Regions from separate parts of the Homo sapiens genome. Here region 2 is linked to region 1. Evidence: promoter capture Hi-C in human tissues and cell types (Jung and others, 2019). All regions are on one chromosome and are shown on one strand. Each heading gives the region's core, a stretch centred on a gene start or on the middle of the fragment in contact. The rest is flanking DNA. Distances are from core to core; before and after follow the strand shown.

Region 1 (6,257 bases), core at 2,948-5,447:
AAGTCATTTAGGGAGGGACATGGGGGTGGAGGGTGGAATCTGGAACTGGAATTCGGGTCTCTGGCAACATAATTCCTACACCTGGCGATGTCTCTGTATCTCCAGTCTTATGATGGCTGGGTTGTGTAGGGTCAGTAGGGAATGGGAAGGAACCTAAGGCAGTCAGAAGCAGCTAGGTCAGGTCAGAACAGAGCCCTGCAAGGAGGATTCAGTGTCCTGGTCCTTCTCCCCATCCAGAGCTTTGTAGTCATGTGGCGGCATGTAATTCCATTTCCGCCCCTATGAAATTAATATTCCTAAAAACAGAGCCACCATTTATCCAGGTTTACTGTCACTGTGCTAAGAGCCTCGCCTTGTGCTTACTCTTACGCCAGCCCTCCACAGAGGTTATTATTGTCCTCCAATTTACAGAAGAGAAAACTGAGGTGTAGAAGCTTCACACAGGGAGGAATGATGTGCACAGTTTTAACTCAGATGGGCCCGATTCCATAGCAAGGTGGAATGTGTTTTATGTGCATAAGCCCTCTACTTTGTAAAACAGGGTAAAGAAGAGTTCCTGCCGGGTCTCACCACTACAACTGGGGGAAGAAACGAGAAGCCTGCATTTGAAAATACTAAGAAGGCCAACCCCCCTGAAGGCACTCTTTAGGTGAGCAAGGTTCGTTAAGAGGAGGCTGCAGGGGCAGTGTGGGCTAGGACCCTGGGAGTTCTAGTCCTTGGTCTGTTGAGGTAGGCAAGAGGAAAGCGGAGTCCTTCTGTAGGGATCCCTGAGCTGAGCACTAAGTCCCAGGAGGAACCAGGGCAGGGTCCCTGCAATAGTGAGGAGCTGGGAATTCCAGAATTCCAGACTATCAATCCTATTCCCTTCTTCTGCAACTGGGGAAACTGAGGCTCGGACTGGAAAGGAACAAAGAGGTGCTAGATAGGGAAAGCCAGGACTCTTGCCTGTCACATCTCTTGCCTGCCAGCCTAAAGCAATTTTAGCCAAAATCCTAGGTCTCAGACCTCCTCCTACAATATAGCTTGGGCAGAGATAGAGAACAACCTTACAAGGTCCCCACCATCCCGGGAGTTCTGCTGCTCTCCACGGACTACAGTAAAGCATTTTGGGGTCTCTGAGAAGGCAGTCTAGAGCCTAGTTGTACTGCAGTCTCCCCCGACGTCATCCTGCTGGGGGTTGCCCCAGCCCCAAGCCTCAGGAGATCCCTTAGGGCTGAGTTTCTGGTGGGGGCACCGCTTGAAAAATGACACTGAATACCTTCTCTAGGTTGGGGAACAGTGCTTTCCACATCACTGGCAGCTGGAGACACCCTGCTCTTTAAGACCCATGGGGGGCTGCCAGGTAGTCTCAGGGGCCCTCAAGGGGTGTCATAGGACTGGGACTCCTCACCCAGTACTGATAATGCATTCCCCACCACACTAACCAGGCCAGATATATGGGGGATGTATACAACCTTGAGTGATCTGTGTAACATCATAAAAGCAACTAGGACTCATATGGGCAGGCGCGTGGGCCACACATTTGTATGTGTGTTATGTGTGAGCATGTGAGAACCTCTATTTGTGAGCACCTGTGCATATGTAGTAGATATTGTGACTGTGTACTTGTGCACTGAAGGCTTAGCGGTGACACTGAGAATATACAAAATGTATGATGGGATTTTGGAAGTTTGTGTTGCGAATACAATTGTGGAGAATCTTAGGAAGATACAAGCTGGTTTAAATTGTGGCAATGAGATTATGTGTGAAACCCTGCATTTGTGTAGTATTCAGAATTTATGTGTTTCTACCATATGACTTTGGTCTCTGTGCATGCCTGAATGGAGGATTGGGAGCGGCTCCCAGGTGTAACACATCTGAAGCGTGATGAGTATGTACCCTGTGGGTGACAGAGAGACAATGTGTAAAATCCTAGGAATGCATGAATGCTGTGTGTACCGTGGCTGTGCGTATTACTGTGAGAATACACATACTTTTGGGCGTCTTATGAAGATACGGGCTTTTGTGTACGGCGGCAAGGTTTTGTGAGCCCTTGTGCATGTACCTGTGAATGTATAATCTGAGGGCCTAGTGTGCCGCTCTGAGAGGCACTGTTGCAGATTGTACTTGGATTAGGACAAAGACTGGGCGTGTGTTGAGGATTGTGTGTTGAGGTCCTTCTCTCCACAGCGTAATTACTCTCTACCTGCGCTCTTTCTAGAATGCCTCCAGGCCAGGGAGGCTTGGGACCCCGCAGAGCCGCCGCAGCAGCGGGCCCCCAGCGCTCCCTCCCCGCGTGCCTCCGGCTCCGCGCTCTGCCCTACCCCAGCGCTGCTGGCGCCAGGCGCCGGGGAGAGCGGGGGGTTTCCAGCCCGCCTCGGGCAGGAAACCAGGACCTCCCTGCACCACCCCCCCATGCACCTCCAGGGCCCACAGCCCTGCTGAGCTCCCACAGGTGGAACCAGCAGGCCCAGGCTTTTGTCTCCGTCACTCCTGTATGTAACCCCCCACCCTTCATTCACTCTCTTGTCCAGGAGTGGAATTCCACTCATCCACTCCCTACCGGACCTCGAGAAAATCGCTCTTCTTCTCTGGGCTTCACGTTCCATATCTGTTCAAGGAGAGAATGGGCCTTTCTCCCTCTGTCTTTGGACTAGTAACTATGATAGGCACATAGTAGGCATCAATAAATAATTGTTGAATGAATGGGTGAATGATTTGCCTTCTAAAAAGAGCACTCACATTAACTTCTCCTTTCCCCCTCCCCTCGACTTTGCTTTGAAGAGAGGCACACTCCCTCTACCACACCGAGGGAGGGGGCGTTGAGCTGAGAAAGGTTGAGAGAATGAGGGACCCAGGTAGGTGGACATCGGCCAAGAAAGGAACCACAGCGGGAGGTAAGACCGAGAGTCCCCAGCTTGAAGCGTCACCACTCCGGGATTCCCAGATTCCAACGCGAGCCTGGGGAAAGCCCACAGTGGAGAGAGTCCGGCTGGCAGGGAATGGCCCTACCCCCGGGGTGAAATCTCGGAGGGTCGTGCAGCCGAGTCGCGCCTCTGCGCTGATGCGTGAGAGATGCCGGACGTCGCGTTTGCCTGTGCGAGCCTCGCGGATGCTGTGCAGTCTTGGTCCCCTCTGCGTGTGTCTAACGCCGAATGCTGGTGTCTCGAGGTGTGAGCTTCGGGGCCGGTGTCTTTAAAGAACCAAAGATTCTTAAGGAGTGATGATCTGGGTAGAGCGGCCCGACGTAGCCGCGCTCCCAGGTCTCGGTGCGAGTCCTGCGGACAGACCAGAGGAGACCTGCTGGCCAGATGCCCCGGGCCCAAGGCGGACGCCAGACTGTCTCTGCGCCAGCCGGGCTGGCCTTCGGAATGGATCAGGCACCCGGGAGGCCGGAGTGGATCTCAGACCCTCAAGCCGGGAACAAACCCGTCGATGCCCGTGGGCCTGGAGTCCGCCTCCTCCTTCCCGCCCCACCCCTACCCCTGCCTCCGAAAGGCTTCTTCGCTGGTCAGTAGCTGCGTGCCCGTCTGCCTGAGGCTGGGTCAGAATTGGCGGGCTGGTAACGACCCCGTGCACAAGCGGCTCCCAGTCTCTCCAGAAAGGGCCGATGACTAAGGGGTGGGGGTGGGGGCGGAGGGCTGGAAGGTGTTAGGGAAGAACGTTAGCGGCCTATCCTGTCTTCAGCAGCGCCCTCTCATCTTCTAGCTCTGACGCCGAGCAGAGCAGTTGGAGCTCGGGACTGGGAACTGCTGGAATTCCTATTTAGACTTCTAGACAGTCTAGAAACAAGAACCTTTCTTTCCCTGGGCCTCAGTTTCCTTGTCTGTAAAATCAAAAGGCGGGCTCTAGGTGTAGGCCTTCTTTTCGCTTGGTGATTCTGGATTCCTTTCCTTGGATCCGTGGGGAGGGGGTGGCAGCAACAGTCCAGGGCGTTGGCCGTCCTGTGCCTCAAGTACGTAGTCCCCGTGCCCGCCCCCTCAACACCCCCAGCAGCCCGCCCCCCTAAGCCCGCAGAGCAGGGAGCTGAGTGGGAGGGGCAGAGGCGGGGCCGGTTCCCAGTCCCTGCTGGCGGACTAGAGTGGCGCGGGCTGAGCGTAAAACCTGGGATAGCCACTCCCCCTTTTCCTTATCCCCGCCCCCCTGCCATTGGCTCCCGGGAGAGGTTGACATCAAAGCCGCGGTCTTATATAAGCCAGATCCGCAGGGGAGTCCGCAGAAGGGTTAAACAGGTCTTTGGGCTTCGGCGACCTCGCCCGCGGCAGAAACCGGTAAGAAGACAGTGGGCTGCGCGTCTCATTTTCAGCCTTGCCCGGACTCTCCCAAAGCCGGCGCCCAGTAGTGGCTCCAGAGCCCACAGGTGGCCCCCGGCAGTCTCTGGGGCGCATGGAGCGGCGTTAATAGGGCTGGCGGCGCAGGCCAGTAGCCGCTCCAACATGAACCTCGTGGGCAGCTACGCACACCATCACCACCATCACCACCCGCACCCTGCGCACCCCATGCTCCACGAACCCTTCCTCTTCGGTCCGGCCTCGCGCTGTCATCAGGAAAGGCCCTACTTCCAGAGCTGGCTGCTGAGCCCGGCTGACGCTGCCCCGGACTTCCCTGCGGGCGGGCCGCCGCCCGCGGCCGCTGCAGCCGCCACCGCCTATGGTCCTGACGCCAGGCCTGGGCAGAGCCCCGGGCGGCTGGAGGCGCTTGGCGGCCGTCTTGGCCGGCGGAAAGGCTCAGGACCCAAGAAGGAGCGGAGACGCACTGAGAGCATTAACAGCGCATTCGCGGAGTTGCGCGAGTGCATCCCCAACGTGCCGGCCGACACCAAGCTCTCCAAGATCAAGACTCTGCGCCTAGCCACCAGCTACATCGCCTACCTGATGGACGTGCTGGCCAAGGATGCACAGTCTGGCGATCCCGAGGCCTTCAAGGCTGAACTCAAGAAGGCGGATGGCGGCCGTGAGAGCAAGCGGAAAAGGGAGCTGGTGAGTCCTGGGGCTTGCATGCTCCAGCCAAGGGTGCAGGAGCGGTGAGCAGCCTCAGGCCATGCAGGTAGTCGAAGGAGGCTGTGTTGTCCTGTGTCCGATTTGGAAAGGTTGGGAAGAGTTCTGAGATGGTTGGTCACAGCGTGCGATCCTGTGCATGGAGGGAGGCAGATTCGTCATAGAATTCATTTGTAATACGGGAGAGTGTTTGTAATACTGAGTGAATAATCTGTTTGGAGCCTCGGACCCTCCAAAAATGCACACACCACAGGTTTTGCTTCCAATTTGGAGAAGTCCTGATTCATTCCTGGGCTCTCCTGGAAGCCAGGTTAAGAATATGTGTTAAAGTTCTTTACTTTGAGTTTGAATTTATGTGCCCGGGCTCGGTTCCTGTTTTCAAAGGGCCTTTGCTGGACCGGCTAGTCTACTTCCATCATTGTATAAATAGGGAAACTGAGGGCCCAGAGTGGGTCGGGGCAGGAAAAGCACCTATCTGAGGAGTCCAGGGTGGAGGTGAGGTAAAACAGATCGGGTCTTCTACTCAGTCCAGGGCCAGTTCTGGTTCTCCCCATGGACTGGTTCTGAGGACGACTTCAGTGGCTTTGCATGTAAATAAGAGCCACTTCTTTTAGCTTTGGAGAGCGCAGTCTCGTCTTGGCCTTCTTGATCCTCTCCGGTTAGGGTGACACTTCCTGGCACTCGGTCTGGCTGTCCGGGGCTGGGGGCTTCTGAGCGCTGGGTTTTCAGGCTGGCCAATCAGTTTCTCTAGGTTGGGGGGCTTAAGGCCGTAGCGGAGTGGAGCCAGCTGAAGCGCCCCACCTGGTTTATCCAACCTGCGGGGGCCTGTGGTAAACTGACGAAAGCTCATCCAGGGACGAGGGAAAGATAAATAGGCATCGAGTCTCTAAACGGCTGCCCCGGACTGGGGATGGTGCAGGCCGGCTTCTTTCGAGGTGCGGCGCCTCGAAAGAAGTTGTTATTGGGCGGATCCCGGCCCCCACGCGTCGCCGCCTCCTTCAAGTAGCACCGCTTGGTTCCTGCTGAAAGAGCGGGAAGGAGGACGCTAGGCCAGCTCGACTCCCCGCTCTTTTACCTCCGTATCTGAGGCTCCCAGCTCCGGCTTAGGGGGCCCCAAGCCTGCATCCAAGCCCTGATGTTTAAACCAGGTTGGGAGGCTGGCGGAAGTGTGTGGGGTGCAGCGAGAGCGGGAGAACCGTGGATTTCCACCCCTCCCTTCCAATATCCTGGGATCTCCCTTAGGTGTCCTAAAGCCAAATCAACGCGCGTCAGTTTCACCAG
Region 2 (5,985 bases), core at 1,240-3,739, 54 kb before region 1:
CCTCACAGCATCTCGAAATAGGTGGTATCATCTTACCTCATTTACAGATGAGGGAAAGTAAGAATTCAAAATCACCCCATTAGTAACCTGGGAATCATCTTTGATTCTTCCCTTCCTCCCACTGCCCGCAAACCGACCCATTCCCTATCCTGACCATTTTTATCTGTGGAGTGTTTCTCAAATCCATAATTTTCTCTCCATGCTACTACCACCAGCCCAATCCAAGCCACCATTCCCTCTTGCCTGTGTAAACACCATAACTTCCCAACTGGTCTCCCTGTCACCACTCTGACCTCAGTACTGTAGCCAATGACTTTTTGGCTGAAAATATTTTCAGCTGGGGACAGTGGCTTGCGCCTGTAGTACCAGCTATTCTGGAGGCTGAGGAGGAAGATGGCTTGAGCACAGAAGTTCGAGGCTGTAGTGAGCTATGGTCACTGTACTCCAGCCTGGGCAACAGAGTGAGACCCTGTCCCTAAAAAATAAAAATTAGGCTGGGCACGGTGGCTCACGCCTGTAATCCCAGCACTTTGGGAGGCTGAGGCAGGCAGATCACCTGAGGTTGTTAGTTCGAGACCAGCCTGGCCAACATGGTGAAACCCCGTCTCTACTAAGAATACAAAACTAGCTGGGTGTGGTGGCGGGCACCTGTAATCTAAACTACTCGGGAGGGTGAGGCAGGAGAATAGCTTGAACCTGGGAGGCGGAGGTTGCGGTGAGCCAAGATTGTGCCACAGCACTCTAGCCTGGGCAACAGAGCGAGACTGTGCCTCAAAAAAAATAATAAAATAAAATAAAAATAAATAAATTAAAATAAAATAAAAATTTTTAAAGTTTCAGTGTAATTTGTTTATACATATACCTACAATACATGCATGCATATCCATAAATACAATTTTACACAAATGCCTAAAAATGATCAGAAATACCCTTTATTTAGTCAGTACAGTTTTCTTTCTTTTCTTTTTGGTTTGGCTCCTCCTTTTCCACCCCCTCGCCTCACACAGCAACCCACACTCATGCCAACGACCTGCTGTGTGTCATTCCATGTTTTTATCTGTACTCATTCAATCCTGAGCACATATTTGTATGCACATTTACACATACAGAATTTACTCATTATTGCTTCTTTTTTTAAAATGGGACCATCCTATAAAAACATTTAAAACAATATTATAGTTTTCTGCATCTTACCTTCTTCACCCAACAACACTTCATAGACATCTTTCCAAGTCATCGAGTATAGCTCTAATTCTTTCTTTTTAATGGCTGCATAATATTTCACTGTGTGGATGTATCAGTGTATTCAGTCACCATCTTGTTTTTATTTTTGTTGTTCTGAGACAGAGTCTCACTCTATCACCCAGGCTGGAGTACAGTTGTGCAATCACCCCCTCACTGAAGCCTTGAACTCCTGGGCTCAAGGGATCCTCCCATCTCAGCCTCCTGAGTAGCTGGGACTATAAGAGAGTGCCATTAGACCTGGCTAATTTTTTTTTAAGAGATGGGGTCTCACTATGTTGCCCAGGCTGGTCTTGAACTCCTGGATTCAAGCAATCTTCCCACCCCAGCCTCCCAAAGTGCTGGGATTACAAACATGAGCCACCATGCCCAGCCTGGTCATCTCTTTGTTGATGGTCATTGTCTGCTTTCATTTTTTTGCCATTGGGAGCAATGTGGCACTATTAGGTAGAGTTCTTAGAGGCAGCAGAAGCTGATGCTGTTTAATTGACCTGGAGGCTCAGTTGCTAGGACCAAAGCCCTAAACCATGCCACAGAACAGCCTGATAAGCTCACTGGCTTTGGTCTCACGAAGCTCTCTCCTGCTCCACCCATGCCACCTCTACACCTGGAATTCCACCTTGCAGTCCCTGGGAAACTGCCTCTGGTGCTGCAGCCACCAGAACTGGACTCTTGTCTGGTCCCATGTTAACACAAAATGGGAGAAGTCTCACAGGATGCATCTAATTGGCAGAGCCTGCTGGAATGGCCACATCCTAGCTGCAAAAGAGGCTGGAATGTCAATGGAAATTCTTGAACTGAGGAGGTGATTTCCCCAATTATAAAGAAAGGCTATTCAAAAGATGATGGGCAGCTATGAATATGGCAGTATCTACTGCAATTTTGCTGTACATAAGTCTTTCTTTATTGGGGCATTTTTTATATATATATATTTTTTTAAATTTTTTGAGATGGAGTCTCACTCTGTCACCCAGGCTGGAATGCAGTGGCACGATCTTGGTTCACTGCAACCTCTGCCTCCTGGGTTCAAGTGATTCTCCTGCCTCAGCCTCCTGAGTAGCTGGGATTACAGGCCTGCACCACCACACCTGGCTAATTTTTGTATTTTTAGTAGACATGTGATTTCACCATGTTGGTCTGGCTGGTCTCGAACTCCTGACCTCAGGTGATCTGCCTGCCTCAGCCTCCCGAAGTGCTGGGATTACAGGCATGAGCCACCTCGCTCAGCCAAGGGGTCTTTATTTTTGTGGGGTAGGTTTGCAGGAGTTGAATGGCTGCTTTCCAAAATGTCTGTAACATTGCACGTTTCCACCAGCAATATGTGGGAGTACCACTTTCTTTACCTCCCCACCAGCCATAGGTGTGAGAGCTCTGTCAGATATAAAACTTGATCACGGCTGGGCTCGGTGGCTCACGCCTGTAATCTCAGCACTTTGGGAGGCCAAGGCAGGTGGATTACCTGAGGTCAGGAGTTCAAGACCAGCCTGGCCAACATGGTGAAACCCCATTTCTACTAAAAAACATATATAAAAATTAGCCAGGCATGATGGCACACGCCTGTAAACCCAGCTACTTGGGAGGCTGAGGCAGGAGAATTGCTTGAGCCTGGGACGGGGAGGTTGCAGTGAGCCGAGATTGTGCCACTGCACTCCAGTCTGGCTGACAGAGCAAGACTCTGTCTCAAACAAACAAACAAACAAACAAACAAACTTGATCACTTTGCTGACTGTTAATATAACAGTATATAACTGTTAATATAAATTTGAGTATATTTTTCATGTTTTTGGTCGTTCCGTTGACTGTCTAGTTATCACCTTTACCCATTTTTCTGTTGTGATGGCTTCTCCTTTCAGGCTGCATGCTGGATGTCTTCCATCTGTCCTTCCAGATCAGGCTCTGCTTTCTCCATCTGCTATGTGCCTCTTATCCCATACGGACTGTATAGCCAGCTTCTGGTTGGGTTTGGCCAGTGTGAGGCACACCTGAAGATCACTGGGCAAGAGGAAAGAGAGATTGGGGTATTTACACCCAAGCCCTTTTCCTGCCCTTGATGGGCATCATAAATCGGCTTCATTCCTCTGCAGCTCCTGTCTTCTGGCCCTCCACCCGCCATATAGTCTTTTCCAGGCTCTGAAAACTCCTTGATATCCCAACTCCTTTTGGCCTTGGTGGAAATTATTTCCTTCTGATACCAGCTCTGCGGTTGTGCAGGTCCCTGGATGCATTTGTTAAACCCTGCACACCCCTCTGTATTGTCCCTTCATTATATTGCCTTAAACTACCCCAGTTGATCGTGCCACCTACCTCTTGCCAGGACTGTCGGTGACATAAGATAGGAAACTTTTCTCTGTCTTTAGTAGACAGTGCTATTTTTCAAACTCTAGTGTTTGCCCACTGAGTTTGTTTTTAGTATCTTTTGCCATACTAAAGATTTGATTTATAAATATATAGTCAAATTTAATTTTTAAGTAATCTCTCTTTTCTTTTCTTTTCTTTTCTTTTTTTTTTTTTTTTTTGAGACGGAGTCTCTATTTCCCAGGATGGAGTGCAGTGGCACGATCTCGTCTCGCTACAACCTCCGCCTCCCAGGTTCAAGTGATTCTTCTGCCTCAGCCTCCTGTTTAGCTGGGGTTACAGGCATGCGCCACCATGCCCAGCTCATTTTTGTATTTTTAGTAGAGACGGGGTTTTGCCATTTTGGCCAGGTTGGTCTCAAACTCCTGCCACCCTCCTCGGCCTTTCAAAGTGCTGGGATTACGAACGTGAGCCACCGCCTTTTTTTTTTTTTTTTTTTTTTTTTTTGAGATGGAGTCTCGCTCTGTCGCCCAGGCTGGAGTGCAGTGGCGTGATCTTGGTTCACTGCAACCTCCACCTCCCAGATTCAAGAGATTCTCCTGCCTCAGCCTCCTGAGTAGCTGGGATTACAGGCACCCACCACCACGCCCAGTTAATTTTGTATTTTTAGTGGAGACGGGGTTTCACCATGTTGGCCAGGCTGGTCTCAAACTTCTGACCTGAGGTGATCCGCCCACCTCAGCCTCCCAAAGTGCTGGGATTATAGGCATAAGCCACTGCACCAGGCCAATCTCGCTTTTCTTTGACAAATAAGGTCTTCCCAACCTCTAGACCAGAAGTTGGGAAATTTTTGCATAAAAATCCAGCAAGTAACTATTTCAGGCTTTGAGGGGTGTATGGTATGGTCTCTGTCATAACCACTCAACTCTGGCATCATGACACAAAAGCAGCCATAAATATGCCAACGAATGTGCTTGAATAAAACATTGTTTATAAAAATAGGCAGGCAGAAGGCCGGGCGTGGTAGCTCATGCCTTTAATCCCACCACTTTGGGAGGCTGAGGCAGGCAGGTCAAGAGGTCAGGAGTTTGAGACCAGCCTGGCCAACATGGTGAAAACCCATCTCTACTAAAAATACAAACAAAAAAATTAGCTGGGTGTGGTGGCGGGTACCTGTAATCGCAGCTACTCAGGAGGCTGGGGCAGGAGAATCTCTTGAACCTGGGAGGCGGAGGTTGCAGTGAGCCGAGATCGTGCCACCGCCCTCCAGCACAGGCAACAGTGCGAGATTCTGTCTCAAAAAAAAAAAAAAAAAAAAAAAATAGGCAGCAGCAATTCTACTTCTAGGTAAATGCCCAAGAAAAATGGCAGCATAGTTCACACAAATACTGGTACCTGAATGTTCATAGCAGCACTAATCATAATAGCCAAAAGGAGGAAACAAACTAAATGTCCATCAATGGATGAATGGATACGCAAAATGTGGGATATCCATAAAATGGAATATTATTCATCCATGAAAAGGAGTGAAGTTCTGATACTTGCTACAACATGGATGAATCTTGAAAACATGCTAAGAGAAAAAAGAACAGTTGCAGATGATCACTTATAATATGACTCTGTTCATATGAAATGTCCAGGATTGGCAGATCTATAGAAACAGAAAGTAGATTGGTGGTTGCCTAGGGCTGGGGAGGATAGGGAATGGGGGTTGATAGCTAAGAGGTATGGAGTTTCTTTCTGAAGTGATGAAAATGTTCTACAATTGACTTTGGTGATGGTTGCATGTATCTAAGAATATACTAAAAATCATTGACCTGTATACTTCAAGTGAGTGAATTATATGGTATGTGCATTATATTTTAATAAAACTGTTTTTTTTTTTAAGTCAGCCAGCCAGCTGGATGGGGCCCATGTGCTGTAGTTTGCTGGCCCCTGCTCTATGTTAAACATACAGTGTCCTAGAATATCTTACATTATTTTGTATTATTTTAATTCTTACATTTACATTTTTGATCTATCTGAAATTTTGGATTTTGTGGGTTTTTTTTTGACATTTTAATGACTCATGGTAGGCAAGCTTTATTTATTTATTTTTCCAAGTTTTTTTTTTAATATACTTTAAGTTCTAGGGTACATGTGCACAACGTGCAGGTTTGTTACATAGGTATACATGTGCCATGTTGGTGTGCTGCACCTGTTAACTCGTCATTTACATTAGGTGTATCTCCTAATGCTATCCTTCCCCCCTCCCACCACCCGATTTTGTGGTTTAAGATGAGGGTTCATTTTATTTATTCCAGAGGGTTACATTATCAGGCCAGCACCATTTGTGAAATAAACTATCCTTTTTCCACTGTGATGAGATACTTCTTTTGTCAAATGCTAACATCTATATCCTGAGATCTAATTCTGGATTATTTATCCTGTTCCACAGATCTATTTGTC

Evidence for each region. The method cuts DNA at HindIII sites, captures the fragments that hold promoters and counts their contacts. A contact is called where the count stands out against the background at its distance.
Region 2: a contact is called between a fragment that was not itself captured here and the fragment with the promoter of HAND1 in region 1, in 1 of the 25 tissues and cell types used here (neural progenitor cells).

What each region holds. Positions count from the first base shown.
Region 1 is chr5:154,476,167-154,482,423 of GRCh38, reverse strand. It overlaps HAND1 (heart and neural crest derivatives expressed 1), which reads left to right and starts at 4,197. Exons shown (of 2, transcript NM_004821.3): 1 at 4,197-4,958. The coding sequence starts at 4,416. RefSeq lists a silencer at 2,224-2,273 and enhancers at 2,240-2,749, 5,523-6,257. The HindIII fragment of the contact is 8,038 bases long and covers 1-6,257 here.
Region 2 is chr5:154,528,540-154,534,524 of GRCh38, reverse strand. No RefSeq gene overlaps it. Among named protein-coding and RNA genes, the nearest start is that of HAND1, 53 kb to the right of the region's middle. The HindIII fragment of the contact is 7,848 bases long and covers 1-5,985 here.